Linked DNA regions of Homo sapiens: region 2 is linked to region 1. The links are contacts of gene promoters, found by promoter capture Hi-C in human tissues and cell types (Jung and others, 2019). All regions are on one chromosome and are shown on one strand. The core of a region is centred on a gene start or on the middle of the fragment in contact, and the rest is flanking DNA. Distances in the headings are between cores, read along the strand shown.

Region 1 (7,729 bases), core at 1,714-4,213:
ATCACTTTTCTTGGTGGAAGAAATACAAGAACCTTTGATTTTTATTATTTGTTTTTCTGTTATTCTTCCTGAATATTTAGCAAGGTGGTTTACAAGTCCTGATTTTCTCATATATTCCAGAAAGAAGTAGCTGAAGGGTGATTTTTGGTGCTTACTCAGCCCATTCATTAATTGGAAATAGGCTCCTCCTGGGGACAGTGTGGTGGTAATAGAAGTTTGAGTGTCAAGTAGGTCTAAAAAGAGCTAAAAAGGGGTGAGAACATTCACTCTGGAGTCAGACATCACTGAAGTGGAACCCTAGATTTATTGCTTATTAGGTGAGCAAACTTGAGCAAGTAAACATCTTTGAACCGTAATCGCCTATATATGATTTGAGAAAAATAATAAGTACCTTTCAGGGTTGCTGTGAGAATTGGAAAATATTCACCCACTAGCACATATTATTACAAAACATACACTGTTAGGATAGGCTTCACTGGAATTGGGACAGATTTCTGAGTACCCCACTGCAGCAGTGAGGTCTATAATCAGTTCTTTAAGGACTAAGAAATGGCATTGTCCTCTATTCTGAATTCAACCACATATATTAAACAGATATTCCTGGTCAATACCTGTGTATATTTTAGTCTTTTCCAAATTGTAATGTGGGACCCTAAAACCAGACATAGAGAAAAAGCCCAAGTTGCAAAATACTTTGCTATTTATGACTTGATTGCAATAAGATTTCAAGAGTTCACAAGGACAATATGGAATATTTACTTATCTCAGGTCTTCTGACAAATATTTGCTATGCTTCTGTCATACCATGAGCTTTCAGTAGGGTGGGAAGAGGAGATTGAAACTGGTGGCAACCATGAGAGACTGCATGGTGGTTTTAACCTTTCTTATATAAGCCATGTTTATAGTTAAATTTAAAACAACTTTATTAACAAACAGATAACAGATACTAAACTACTGATCTGAGCAGCCACTGAGTGTTCCATACACTGACTCTGCTACAAGTCCTGCAATCTTGCCTAATCATTGTTTTATCTCCAGCATAGGATCTGAGAGTTGTAGATTCTCCATAAATGTCTGCCGTCTTGCACTTCAGTAAAAATGCTGCACAAGGTGCCTGAAAATTGTGCCAGCCCTTCGGTATCAGGGTGGTATTGGTCTAAAATTGCCTCATGGTAGAATAGGACTGGCAAGCTCAGAGAAAGGTTAATTCCTCCCCCCCACATTTACTTATCTTCCTGTTATCTTTGAATATATAGTCAGATGGATTTCAAGTCCTAGCCTCTCTAAGATATTCTAGAAAGAATTAACTGAAAGGTGATTTTTGGTCCTTACTTAGCCCATTCATTAAGTGGAAGGGCACCCCTGAGAACAGTGTGGTGGTGACAGAAGTCATTGAAATGGGACATGTCTAAATGAAAAGATAAACTGAGAGGTACAGGGTTAGAAGCTGGAAACAACCGGGAAAATTGACCTCCACTGGAATATTTATCCAGAGTCTAGTTCCAAAGCTAAAATGCAAAGGTTCTTGGATTTCTTCTATTAAGAACAGTAATAATGTCTTGCTTGCCTAATCTCATTTGATAATTTCTCCTTTCTCCGGGCTTAATGCATCCCTCACATATTTATATGCTCTGGCTTATATATCTTTATTTCTTGTAAATTTAGTTTCTCAACACCTACATATGTTCCTTGAAGGTGATGGGTATGTCTTTTATTTCTTTTATGTCATCCTTTCTGCCCAGTGCTTAGCACAGTGCAAGGCACCTGTTGCCCAATAATTATAAACAATTGACTCACTTGTATTGTATAGAACATCCATCCTGATTCTAGGGAGACTCAAGGTGGCAAATACATTAGATTGTATAGAACTCTCTGAGGTCATTAAGATCTTGGCAAGTGTGAGGGTGGCACAAAAGTTCATCGATAATTTTCCTTAAAATGCATGTTCAACTGGGGCTATCATATTCCCTGCAAAGCTGGCTTAAAGCTAATAATACCACCATCTGCTTTTATGTAGCTCTTTGCAATTTGGAGCTTCATTAATAATACATTACTCATTTTAGTGTCACTAAACCCTGTACACTGGTCAGGGTAAAGCCCTTTTCTCAAATGAGAAAATTGGAGTGCACAGAGATAAAGGACTATATGCACATTTACAAAATTATTGAGTGGCAGAACCACTCACAAAAGGCAGAAGCAAGCCTTTTTTCATCCAAAGGTAGAGTACTTCCCATTCCTCTGCACTGCTTAGTAGACTATTTTTCAACATGGTAAAACTCTCTGGGACAAGAGGAACCTGAAGATGTGGCCCCTTAACAAGAGATGTGGAGAAATTAGGAAAGGACATGCTTTCTTAATTCAAATTACAATGTATCACAAATTCATTTATCCAAAATGGTTTTCTAACCTGGACTTTACCTGGGCAACATTCTAATAATCTCCTTCCAGAGTATGGGAAAAGAAACCGAATCTGAGAAGGGGATAAGAATACTCCCTATTCAGTCAAAAGAAAGGGTTAAAATGTGATTGTTTAAAGATTTAAGGTGGAGAAGAGAGTCTTGAATTATCTAAATGTAAAAAAACTAGGGTAAAAGGCTGGATTTCCTTCGGAATGTCTTTTTCAGCTTATAGGGGAAAAGTTAAAGGGTGTGTGTCTGGGGGGAAGGGTTAGGGAGGGGAAAATAGAACCCTTTTCTTCTAACAGCCTTTCTTAAAAAATAAAAGAAAAGAGAAACAAATGTTTGTTTCTGTTATTAAGCCCCATCTATGCTTAAAAGTTAAATGAAATAGGGAAAGTTCAGGCACAGAGACGCGTGTTCTGATTTGGTTGTTTACCATCAATCAGACCGTTGCTTGGCAGACACTGGATGGTTATGAGCCTGAACAAGCTGAAAAGGGGCAGGAAAAGAAGTGGAGGCAGCATTCTTCCTATTTAAAGCTGCATCGCTTGAAAAAAGTTTTCGCAGACTGTGCTGGAGCTGGTGCTGAAAAAGGGGGTTTGCAGAGGCTGCCCTGGGGCTGGTGCTGAAAGAAGAGCCCACAGCTGACTTCATGGTGCTACAATAACCTCAGAATCTACTTTTCACTCTCAGGAGAACCCACATGTCTAATATTTAGACATGATGGCAAACTGGGCGGAAGCAAGACCTCTCCTCATTCTTATTGTTTTATTAGGGCAATTTGTCTCAATAAAAGCCCAGGAAGAAGACGAGGATGGTGAGTTTGCCATTTGCTTTGCTTGTAGTGTTTATTGCACGGTTTGGGAAATAGGTGGAATGTTAAGCCTCAGGAAGAGCGTGAAGAGGAGGTTCTGGTTTGAAGTTTGAGAAGGGGGCTGACGGATTTGCACCTGGAAAACGACTTGAAAGACAATTGGGATGTTTGTAAATCCGGAGCTTCTAGATCCACCGTTGGAGAGAGTACACTACTAAATTTTTCTGGGAAAGCCTACAATAAGTCCTTTTGGCTGAGTGTGAGAGTGGGACGTTTAAAATAAGAAAAGAGTGAATGCTTAAAACGGAGCACTAAAGGCATTTTAGTTAGAGGAGCTCTGTTCTGTGGGCTGGAGTTTTCAGAGCAAGGAAAAGTCGCGGCAGAAGCTGGGTAGGGTGGAGTCTTTTTGTACTGAACTTCAGCTGCTTCATAAAATTCTTTGTTTAGTAAAACCTCTGCAGCAACTCTGATAGCTTTGATTTTTCTTTGTCTTTGGCTCCTCATTCTTTCCTCTTTAACAATTTAAACTTCTTTTTACCATTTTCATTTGTGAAAATGTGATCACTTTTGCTTACTGGGAGGCAGTCTCGTTTGTTTCTCCATGACAGAGGCTGATAGAAGCCAGATTTCTTAAACAGTGGTATTTTCCCACCCTACTGGCTTGATTAACAGGACAGTGGTGGTTCCCGGTTGGATGGCGGAAGGCAGGAAATCAGCATGTCTTGTATATATCTTATTTGGCATGGAATATTTGCATGGACATTACCCCTTAGACCCAAGCTTTTTTTTTTTTTTTTTTTTAAAGATAAATCTTGCCTGGTGACCACATTTTTTTCCTATGCAATTTTCATATGTTACAGTTGGGTTATATGGTATGGTTAAGCAAAAATGCATAGCTGTTGTAGTATATAAGAAAATATTTAAATTGATTCCTCTATTAAATCTTTAATCTTGAGGGTTGCAATTTCAAATACAGACATGTACTCCTTTAAAATAAGCCACTGTAGATTTTCATCAACTCAACCATGTAACATCAAACTCAAGCTTTTAAAACTTTGGACATTCATTAACCTTTTCTATTACTTTCATATATAGACACATACATACAGGTATATATGTATATATACTATGTATATATCTATATTTTTAGAACAAATATCTGCTTCTGTGTGTTTTTGGTTTCAAAAAGTTTATAAAATTAATCTAGAGATCAGAAGTTCTAAAAAGCTTAAAAAGTGAAAATACGAATTTGTAAATGAATATCCAACAATCTGTCAGGAGTCCCATAGAGGGGGCACTTTCTAAGACTTGGAGCTTTTTATGTTACGTTTTATGTTTTTAAAATATGAGGTAATTTATAAAAGGTGAAAACTTTTGAGTTTCTTTGTAATGGCATGAAAAGCATGTGTTGTTTGGAAGGGTGGCAAAAATAATTGAATAGAAAGTAGAAGAAAACAGGAGGAGAAAAACACAGAAAAATTACAATAGAAATTGAAAATTTGACTCTAGAAAGAACAGTTTACTCCCCTCCCCCACCAAAACAACCAACTTTAATTTAAAACCTTTAATACCACTTTCTTTGTTAATTTATGTTAAAATGAATAAAGTACTTTAATAAAGTATGGAAATAATTGAATATGTGAATAAATGAAAGGACTGTTTCACAAGGTACATGAAATAAGCCATATTTTAAAAGACATTCCCAAATAGTTATAATTACTCTGTAGGTGTTTTTGAAAAATGAGCAGATAATTTTTCTTAATAGTAATTGACATAAATGTAAGGAATGTGATGCTTGATGCAAAAAAGTCCCCAACTCCAATCCAACCCCAGTACCCCCCGCGAACAGTATAACCAAATAGCACAGAAAATGGAATTCCAAACATCAAATTTTACAGAATGTGTAATTGCTTGCATATGTGTTGTAAAAAATTCCAGTATTTTATTTCTCAACTTAAGAGAATATAAGTGATAAAAATTCAACAGCAAAAGAAAGTCGTCATTGCCCTAATCAAACATAATAGAGAAAATAATTCCAGAGTATAGTATATTCAGAGCTGCTTAACTTATATTGTACTTACTTACTATGCATATTTTGGTTTAAGTTGATATTGTATGGATACTTGGCAATACTTTCTTTTTCCTGTTCAGGCCTATCACAAGCTTAATAAAGGTGTCATAATTTAGAAACTCCATTTGATTTTGAGTTTGGGGAAGAGTAAGCTTAGATCGATGCTTTAAATTAAAGAAATATCTGAGGCACACATGAAAAGCAAGTACATTTTTCAAATTTTATCTATAACAGTCACATAATGTGATATTTACATTTTGTACAAATATGTCTTCTTGGAAATGTGGAGATCTGTTTTTGCATGTAAGTGCATATTAATAAGTTTTTATTTTTTTCTTTCTTTTTATGACTTCAGGGTATATTTCCCTTTACTTGACTGTGGTTATTTACCAGAAATGTAAAATGTAATCTGAGTATGCCTGCCTGATAGAAACATATGAATGAGAAGATAAAAGTAAATAAATAAAGTTTTAGGCATTTTAAGCCAAAATCAGTTCCATTCTCACTGAGTTTTAAGAACTGATTTGATTTTCTAAATTTATAAGAAACTGAAAGGAGAAAGTTTGGGAGTTGGGCTGACTTTAGTTAAAACTAACGTAACAAAAATTAGGGAGTTAAAATGAAAAAAATCAGCTTTTAAAGAGTTTGTGTGGGTGTATGTGTGTGTGTGAAAAATCAGGGAGTTAAAATGACAAAATCAGCTTTTAAAGAGTGTGTGTGCGTGTGTGTGTGCGTGTGGTGAGAGTGTGTGTGCATTGGGGTGGTGGTCTTCAAAAGATTCCACATTTGTGTTAAGGAAAATGCTAGAGCATTTACAGTGTATTTATATTCCTAAGTTAATGCCTAGCATCTAGTGAGCTATATATATTCTTGTTATTAGAAGTAGGCATGCTTAATTTTAGAAAATAATCTTTGTTATGAATCATTGTATTCAACATGGGATAAGCAATGGAGAAGGGAAGGTGCAGAAATGTATCATTTTGTTTCCAAATACTGTAAACCTCAATGCTTTCAGAGGCCAGGCAGGTAATATAAACAAGTGAAGCAAGCCAGTGTTTGTACATCAATAGGTGATGATGGGGCCTGTGGAGAACTGAAGGTGCATGTCCACTTTAAGGCATTCAGAATTAACATTTTCAGAAGATATTGCATATGACAAATAAAATATATCTGAGTATATATTTGGCTCCCGGCCCATGAATTTACAGCCATCATGTTGCAATCCTACACTGATATCCTCCTGGACCCAAGCTAACTTTTGATTACTGAGAGATGAGGGGCTCACAGTCTTATATGTCATGGTCTCTTGCATTTTTATGATATGTCTGCCATTTATCTCATTGTTACGATACAAAAATCAGGAAGCAGATATTTAACACTCAGTAGTATTTGGATGACATCATTTTAAAGGAGGTACAGAATATGTATAAATATGTATACATAGCTTAAGATGCATGTTAACTCATAAATTGTTTTAAACTCATTACTGTTGAAATACATGCTATGAAACATGTAGGACATTCAGACTTTTATAGTGGGTACATGTAGCAGAACACAGTAGTTTAAACAAACAAAAAAAGGTTTTCTGGCCAGGCGCAGTGGCTCATGCCTGTAATCCCAGCACTTTGGGAGGCCGAGGTGGGCGGATCACCTGAGGTCAGGAGTTCGAGACCAGCCCGGCCAATATGGCAAAACTCCGTCCCTACCCAAAATACAAAAATTAGGTAGGCGTGGTGGCACAAAAATTAGGTAGGCGTGGTCCCAGCTACTCAGGAGACTGAGGCACGAGAGTTGCTAGAACCCGGGAGGCGGAGGTTGCAGTGAGCTGAGACCGTGCCACTGCACTCCAGTCTGGGTGACAGAGTGAGACTCTGTCTAAAAAAAAAAAAAAAAAAGTTTTCTTTTTTAAATATAAAGAAATGCTTTTAAGCAGGTAGTGAAAGGCTGGCATATTGGCTCCACAAAGTCATCAGGGACTGAGGTTTTTTCTACCTCTCCTGGCTCCCATATCTCTAGGTATTTTTTTTTAAATTTATTTTTATGGTCCTAAATGGCTGCTGAAGCTCCAGCCATTGCGTGTACTTTCTAGGCATGTGGATAGAGGATGGAAAACAAAAACTGTGAGCCATTCCCCACCCTGCCCCCTTTTATGAAGACTTTAAAGTCTTCATAACATTTAAACTTACTTACAGTTGGCCGGAATTTAGTCATATGGTCACACAAAACTTCAAGAGGGGCTAGGAAATGTAGCCCTTACCTGGGTGGTGCTGGCAATATACTCTACTGAATTGAGTTCTGCTATGAAGGATAAAAGGAAGCACCACTATTAGGAGTTTTATGGTCCCTACCTCAGTGAGCAAAAAGGTCAGCTACTTTTAGTGGCCTAGATCTTACGGTTTCAATGGACAAAATATAGTTGTGTGACTAGATCCACTTTGGTTATTG
Region 2 (7,729 bases), core at 2,940-5,439, 87 kb before region 1:
GGAAGTCGTAACAAACAGTCTGTCAGACCACAGTACAATCAAATTAGAACTCAGGATTAAGAAACTCACTCCAAACTGCACAACTACATGAAAACTGAACAACATGCTCCTGAATGACTACTGGGTAAATAACGAAATTAAGGCAGAAACGAATACGTTCTTTGAAACCGGTGAGAACAAAGACACAACGTACCAGAATCTCTGGGAAACATTTAAAGCAGTGTGTAGAAGGTAATTTATAGCCCACAAGAGAAAGCAGGAAAGATCTAAAATCGACACCCTAACATTACAATTAAAAGAACTAGAGAAGCAGGAGCAAACAAATTCAAAAGCTAGCAGAAGACAAGAAATAACTATGTTCAGAGCAGAACTGAAAGAGATCGAGATGCGAAAAACGCTTCAAAAAAATCAATGAATCCAGGAGCTGGTTTTTTGAAAAGATCAACAAAATAGATAGAATGCCAGCCAGACTAATAAAGAAGAAAAGGGAGAAGAATCAAAAGACACAATAAAAAATGATAAAGGGAATATCACCACTGATCCCACAGAAATACAAACTACCATCAGAGAATACTATAAACACCTCTATGCAAATAAACTAGAAAATCTAGAAGAAATGGATAAATTCCTGGACACATACACCCTCCTAAGTCTAAACCAGGAAGAAGTTGAATCCCTGAATAGACCAATAACAAGTTCTGAAGTTGAAGCAGTAATTAATGGCCTACTACAAAAAAGCCCAGGACCAGATGGATTCACAGCTGAATTCTACCAGAGGTACAAAGAGGAGCTGGTACCATTCCTTCTGAAACCATTCCAAACAGTAGAAAAAGAGGGAATCCTCCCTAACTCATTTTATGAGGCCAGCATCATCCTTATATTAAAACCTGGCAGAGACACAACAAAAAAAGAACATTTCAGGCCAACAGCCCTGATGAACATTGATGCGAAAATCCTCAATAAAATATTGGCAAACCAAATCCATCAACACATCAAAAAGCTTATCCACCACGATCAAGTCACTTCATTCCTGGGATCCAAGGCTAGTTCACCATACACTAATCAATAAACATAATGCATCACATAAATAGAACCAATGACAAAAACCACATGATTATCTCAATAGATGCAGAAAAGGCCTTCGATAAAATTCAACGCGCTTTCATCCTAAAAACTCTCAATAAACTAGAGATTGTTGGAATGTATCTCAAAATAATAAGAGTTATTTATGCAGACCCACAGCCAACATCATACTGAATAGGCAAAAGCTGGAAGCATTTCCTTTGAAAACCGCCACAAGACAACGATGCCCAATATAGTATTGGAAGTTCTGGGAAATTGAGATTTTTGAAGGAAGGTTTGGGACTATTCAGTCTGGAGAAGAAAATGTGAGGAATAATTTCTTAGCTATATTCAAGAATAGAATTAATTTTTTTCCATACAAGGGAAAATAACCCTCTGTTTTCTAATCACATAATGGAAAGAATTACGAGAAAGGCTTAAGATTTAGATTGGCTAAGATGAATTTCCTGGCATTGAAAATGGTTAAGTACTGGAATTGGTAATGGTAATGGACCAATTCTATGGAATCTCTCATTGCATTTCCTTAAGATAAGGCTCAGTTTTGGTTTCAGAGTATTACAAAGTTTTAGAGACACACGTGATCTTCTTATTTATTATCCTTATTTTTCAAAGTCTTTGAAAGGTTAAGCAACTGCTGAATAGCAAAGCTGGATCTAACACTCAAATCTGATTTATGTAAAATTGTCTTCTTGACCAAAAGATACACAACTTCTCCCTCTTTTCTAATATGTAGCTTTATGTAAGAGATATATTATTTTAATAAAGAGTTTAATTGTTACAAAATAGACACTAATAGTGGCATATTTTCTAAATATTGTTTGTTAAAAAGAGGTGATTTTTACCTTTTGGCCAAAAGATGAAGTGCTTTTTTGTGTATTGTTTATAGTTCATTCCCAGAAAAAGCATGTTGTCTTGTATATGTCTACTTAACAGTTAAGAAACTTCATTTATTTTTAACTATTCATTAGCAGCAAATCTGCAGTTGTTAAACATGGATTTTCTCTGAATGCCAATTCCAGTTGCTTCTTACTTCTCAGATGTAGGGTGTTTGTCTGAAAAATTGTTTCTGAGGGAAGAGTATGCTGAATAGAATTTTTTCTGATGACTAATATAAAAATAGCATGAGGTCTGGAAACAATTTAAACTTCTGCCACATATTCAGTTAGCCAGAGAAATGGTGCTGGAACTACTGACAATTTTAGGCAACAAAATGTTTTATCCAAAGAGAAGAGAATGTTATATCTTAAAAATGAAGTGATACCATTTGTTTCTTGTGGAAACAATGCCAATTTTCTTAGAACTCTTAGTTTGATGGTTGTAATTCTGACTAAACAAAGAGTTCATACTAATGAAGAACTTCCTTTTAAAATTTATTTCAAAAGTACTGTGACTCAAAGAGTATGGGAACAAATAAAACCAGAACTCTATCTGAATACTATTTACTGAATGTAAAAAGACAGTGGATAACATAATTTTTAATGCCACTTTGGGATAGGGAAACATATAAAGCCCACATATCTGGAGATGCATCTTTGTATTAAATAGTCAATAAAGATAATACAGAAGGAATCATAATGTATAAAAATATTTAATGAAAGGATAAATGGATTGATAAAAAAGCACTGGGCTATGCAACCAACAAGAATATATAATATATGCCAAGAATCTTTTGGTGGTGGGTTTGGTTGGCCTACTTGATTTATTTTCATAGTTGGCCAAATGACTTTTAGTAAACCATTTATGTTTGACCCTAAAAGCTTTTCTGTAAATATAAATATAATGTGAGACACACATTGCCCGCATTTACTCTGGACTTGGTAGGAGTCACCCTGCCTTTGTGAATCATGTCTCCAGGAGCATGTAAAAGTCCAGTCTCAGGCATCAACCCCACTGTGCTCCACATTCAGTATCCTCATTCCCCAATTTCCTGGCCTTCTTATTCTATTGCTTTTTAAAAATGATGGGTACGTTACATGAAAATAATTAGTTCTCTTTTATTCCTATATTTATTGCTCCTATTTTCTTCTTCTTAGGCAATTATTTAAAAAATGCATTTAGCATGTTCCTTTTCATTTGTATGTGTTTTTGCAAGATGAATGTTTTGTGATTGTATTTTTAATAAGCAAATATGTAGCGATGAACACCCAGGTTGCCTCCAACTTGCCAGTACTACATATTACACTATAATAAATATTTTTAGAGATTTTATGTAACAGTCTAAGAATTTTTGGAAAAATATACCTTCTAGGCTGGTCATAGATTATCTGTATACTTCATCTGACTCCTACCAAGGCAAGAGTATGGATGCAGGCAATGTGTGTCTTACATTATATTTATATTTACAGAAATGCTTTTAGGGTCAAAAATAAGTGGTTTACTAAAAGTCATTTGGCCAACTATGAAAATAACTCTATCAAATCAAATAGGCCAACCAAACCCACCACCATAAGATTCTTGGCATTGTATTATATATTCTTGTTGGTTTCATAGCCCAATGCTTTTTATCAATTCATTTATCATTTTATTAATATTATATGTATATTTGTTTTAATATAATATTTATTTTCATTAATATAACAAATATTTTTAGAGATTTTATGTTAACTGTCCAAGAATTTTTGCATATATGTACCTAGGAGTAGAATGACTGGTCATAGATTATCTATATATTTCATTTGACTACCTAGTGACAGAAAGTGCTTTTGAGCAGTATTTTAACATATCTTTTATAACATCTTTTGAGGTATAACTCATATACCATAAATTCACCTCTTTAAAGTGTATAATTCAGTATTTTTTCATATATTCACAGAGTTCAAGCATCCTAATATGTAATTTTAGAATATTTTCATCACCCCATCCCCAAAACACACCCTATTCCCATGAGCAGTCATTCCTTATTTTCCCCTCATTCCTGCCTCTAACAACCACTAATCTACTTTCTGTATCTAGATATTTGCCTATTTTGGACACTTCATAGATTTAGGATCATAAAATACATGGCCTTTTATGTCTTCAGGGTTCTTGCACTTAGCAGAAAGTTTTTAAGGGTCATCCATGTGGTTGCATGTATCTATATTTCATATCTTTTTTTTTTTTTGAGATGAAGTCTTGCTCTGTCATCCAGACTGGAGTGCAGCAGCACAATCTCGGCTCACTGTAACCTCCGCCTCCCAGGTTCAGGCAATTCTCCTGCCTCAGCCTCTTCAGTAGCTGGGATTACAGGTGCGTGCCACCATGCCCCGCTAATTTTTGTATTTTTAGTAGAGACAGGGGTTCACCATGTTGGTCAGGCTGGTCTCTAATTCCTGACCTCATGATCAGCCCATCTCTGCCTACCAAAGTGCTGGGATTACAGACATCAGCCACCACACCCAGCCTATTTTACATCTTTTTTATGGCTGAATAATATTCCCTTGCATGGATATACCACATGAATATTTATCCACTCATCAGTTGATGGACATTTGGCTTGTTTTCACCTTTTAGCTATTATTAATAATTGTGATATAAACTTTGGTGTACAAGCTTTTGTGTAAACGTATGTTTTCATTTATTTAAGAGTGGAATATTTGGGTCATATGGTCACTCTATGATTAACTATTTGGGGAAATGCCAAACTGTTTTTCAAAGTGGCTACAACATTTTACATTCCTTCTAGCAGTGTATGAGAGAGTTTCAGTTTCTTCACTTCCTCACCAATACCTGTTTTTGTTTGTTTTATGAGTCTAGCCACTTCTCTGAGTGTTAAGTGGTATTACATTGTGATTTTGATTTCCTGGTGGCTAATGATAATGAGCACTTTTTATACATTTATTAGGTATTTGTGTATCTTCTTTGGTGAAATTATTTTATCAAAGTTGAGATTCCTGAAGGTTGTATTATGTCCCATAAAAGATTTGTTGAAGTCTTAACCCCAGGTACTTTTGAATGTAACCACATTTGGAAACAAGGTCTTTGAAGATGTAATTAAGTTGAGATGAGGTCTTACTGGATTAGGATGGGCCCTAATCCACTGACTGGTGTCTTTATAAGAAAAGAAAAATTTGAATACAGAACACACATGGAGAACGTCACTTGATGATGGAGATTGGAAGGCTGTGTCTACAAGTTAAGAACACAAAGGGTTGGTGGCAAGCTAAAGAGAGTCAAGGAAGGGGGCTCCTTTGACCCTTCAGAGAGAATATGGCTCCGCTGACACCTTGGTTTTGGACTTCTAGCTTTCCAAACTGTGAGAATAAATATCTGTTGTTGTAAGGCACCAAGTTTATGTTAATCTGGTAAATCTATTTTTTTCTTTTGCTGATTGTTCTTTTGATGTCACATAAGAAATTGCCCAATCTAAGGTCACAATGATTTACTCTTATGCTTCCTTCCAAGAGTTTTGTAGTTTTGTTCTTATAATACTTAGGTCTCTGGTTCATTTTGAATTAGTGTTTTTATATGATCTTGGTCCCCCAGGGATTTTTGTAACCTTTGGCCCCTTCCAACTTTTCTGAAGAGGCTCTCTGCCTGCTCCCTCACCATGCTCAAGCAACTAGTACCAATCTTACATATTCCTCGATACCACTGTGGTTGCTTAAGTAAAAGATCAATTTTCCAGTAGGTCTTTTTCTGAAATTTTTCTTTCACACTTCAGCTTGTGCAGTAATTTAGCTAAGTGGAGATTTCTCTTTAGGCAATATTTTTCCTCAGTACTCTGAATAGGTTATTTTGTGATAAATGTTCTTTGTATGTCATCTGTCTTTTCTTTTTGATTGCTTTTAAGATTTTTGTCTTTTCAGTTTTACTATGAAATAACTTAAAATTTAAATTTTATTGCTTTTTATGAGTCCAAGGATTCATATATCTTGCCTGTTTTTTTATTGGGCTGCATATATATTTATCTTATTGAAGCTATTCGTGATTATACACTGTCTGTTTCCCTCTAGAGTTAACCACCATTCTGATTTACTGTAACTGTCTCTTTGCTTTTCTTTATGGTTTTACCATCATGTATGCATCCCTAAACAATACAGTTTAGTTTTTCCTGTTTTTGAGTTTACTACAAATATAATCAAACAGTATACATGCTTTAGAATTTCCCTTCTTTCTATAAACACGTTTTTAAGATTTATCTATGTTGCTTCAAAAAGCTGTAGTTTATTCATTTTCATGACTGCATAGTATATCATTTGATGTTACACATTTATGTCACTTGAAAACAGACATGGTCAGAATACCGTTTTCCTTTCAATATCCATACTAAATGTTTTCCATTATTTAGATTTTCTTTAATGAATTTCAATAAAATTTTATAATATTATCTCTTGGACTTATTTTACACATTTTGTTATATTTTCTTTCATTCTTTGTATTTTTGCTATTATAAATTGTATCTTACACACGTATTTTCTAGCTGTTTGTAGCTAGTATGTAAGAATGCAATTGATTTTTTACATACTTAATTTAAAACATATTTGTTATTGACTTTCAATTTATTTTCTTTATAGTCAGAGAACATACTTAATTTAAAACTTATCTTTGTTATTGACTTTTGATTTATTTTCTTTATAGTCAGAGAGCATAGTTTGCATATTCCAATTCTTTGAACTTGAAAGTATAGTTATGTGTCACTTAATGATGGAGATATATTTTGAGAAATGCTTCATTAGGTGATTTCTTCTGTGCAAATATCAAAGAGTGTACTTAGACAAACCTAGATTACTTACTACACACGTAGGATACAAACCTTACAGCATGTTACTGTACTGAATACTCTAGGCAACTGTAACACAATGGTATGTATTTGTGTATCTAAATCTATCTAAACATAGAAAAGGTATAGTAACAAATATGATATAAAAGATTTAAAAAGGTACACCTGTATTGGGCATGTACCATAAATGGAGGTTGCAGCACTAGAAATTGCTCTGAGTGAGTGAGTAGTGAGTGAATGTGAAGACCTAGGGCATTACTCTACACTTTTATGTGACTGGCAGCATAGTAGATTTATTTCACCAGAATCACCACAAACATGTGAGTAATGAGTTGTACCACAATGTTAGGAAAGCTACGTCACTAGGTAATAGGAAATTTTCAGCTCCATTATAAACGTATGGGACTACCATTGTATATATTGTCTACTGTCGACTAAAGTATTATGCAGTACATGACTGTATTTGTAATGGCACACATATATTCTGTTATAATCTCCCCAAAGGAAACACTTCATGTCCCACCTTACATCCAATATGGGTTTAAAGTTGCCCAGCTATCTCCTTCTAGACCTGTGGTTCTCAAGGTTGGTGGTGGAGGATGGGATACTTCTCTCTAGGGGAATTTTGGATGTTTTTGAGAGCATTTTATTTGTTATAACAATTGAAACGACATCAAGTGGCTGGAAATTGGAGATGCTTTATTTCCTGGAATGCAGGGAAGAATTCTCCTATGTCCTGCTTGACTGAAGGTCTTGCCAGTCATTCAATTACAAAATCCATTTGTAATTATTTGAGCATAGGAACAACTTCATTATATATGCAAACACCAATTATTTTCTGAATAGTTTTAATATGTAATAAATTTCTCTGGAATGCAACTGTGACATACATTTAATCTGACCATAATAATTTAGTTTTTATATCTAGATGTTGAATATCAGAATGCA

Evidence for each region. Contacts are between HindIII fragments. The study calls those that stand out against the background at their distance.
Region 2: a contact is called between a fragment that was not itself captured here and the fragment with the promoter of COL5A2 in region 1, in 2 of the 25 tissues and cell types used here (mesenchymal stem cells and neural progenitor cells).

What each region holds. Positions count from the first base shown.
Region 1 is chr2:189,174,995-189,182,723 of GRCh38, reverse strand. COL5A2 (collagen type V alpha 2 chain) reads left to right here and starts at 2,963. Exons shown (of 54, transcript NM_000393.5): 1 at 2,963-3,216. The coding sequence starts at 3,120. The HindIII fragment of the contact is 11,142 bases long and covers 1-4,908 here.
Region 2 is chr2:189,262,880-189,270,608 of GRCh38, reverse strand. It overlaps a transcript of COL5A2 not described here. Among named protein-coding and RNA genes, the nearest start is that of COL5A2, 87 kb to the right of the region's middle. The HindIII fragment of the contact is 4,538 bases long and covers 1,921-6,458 here.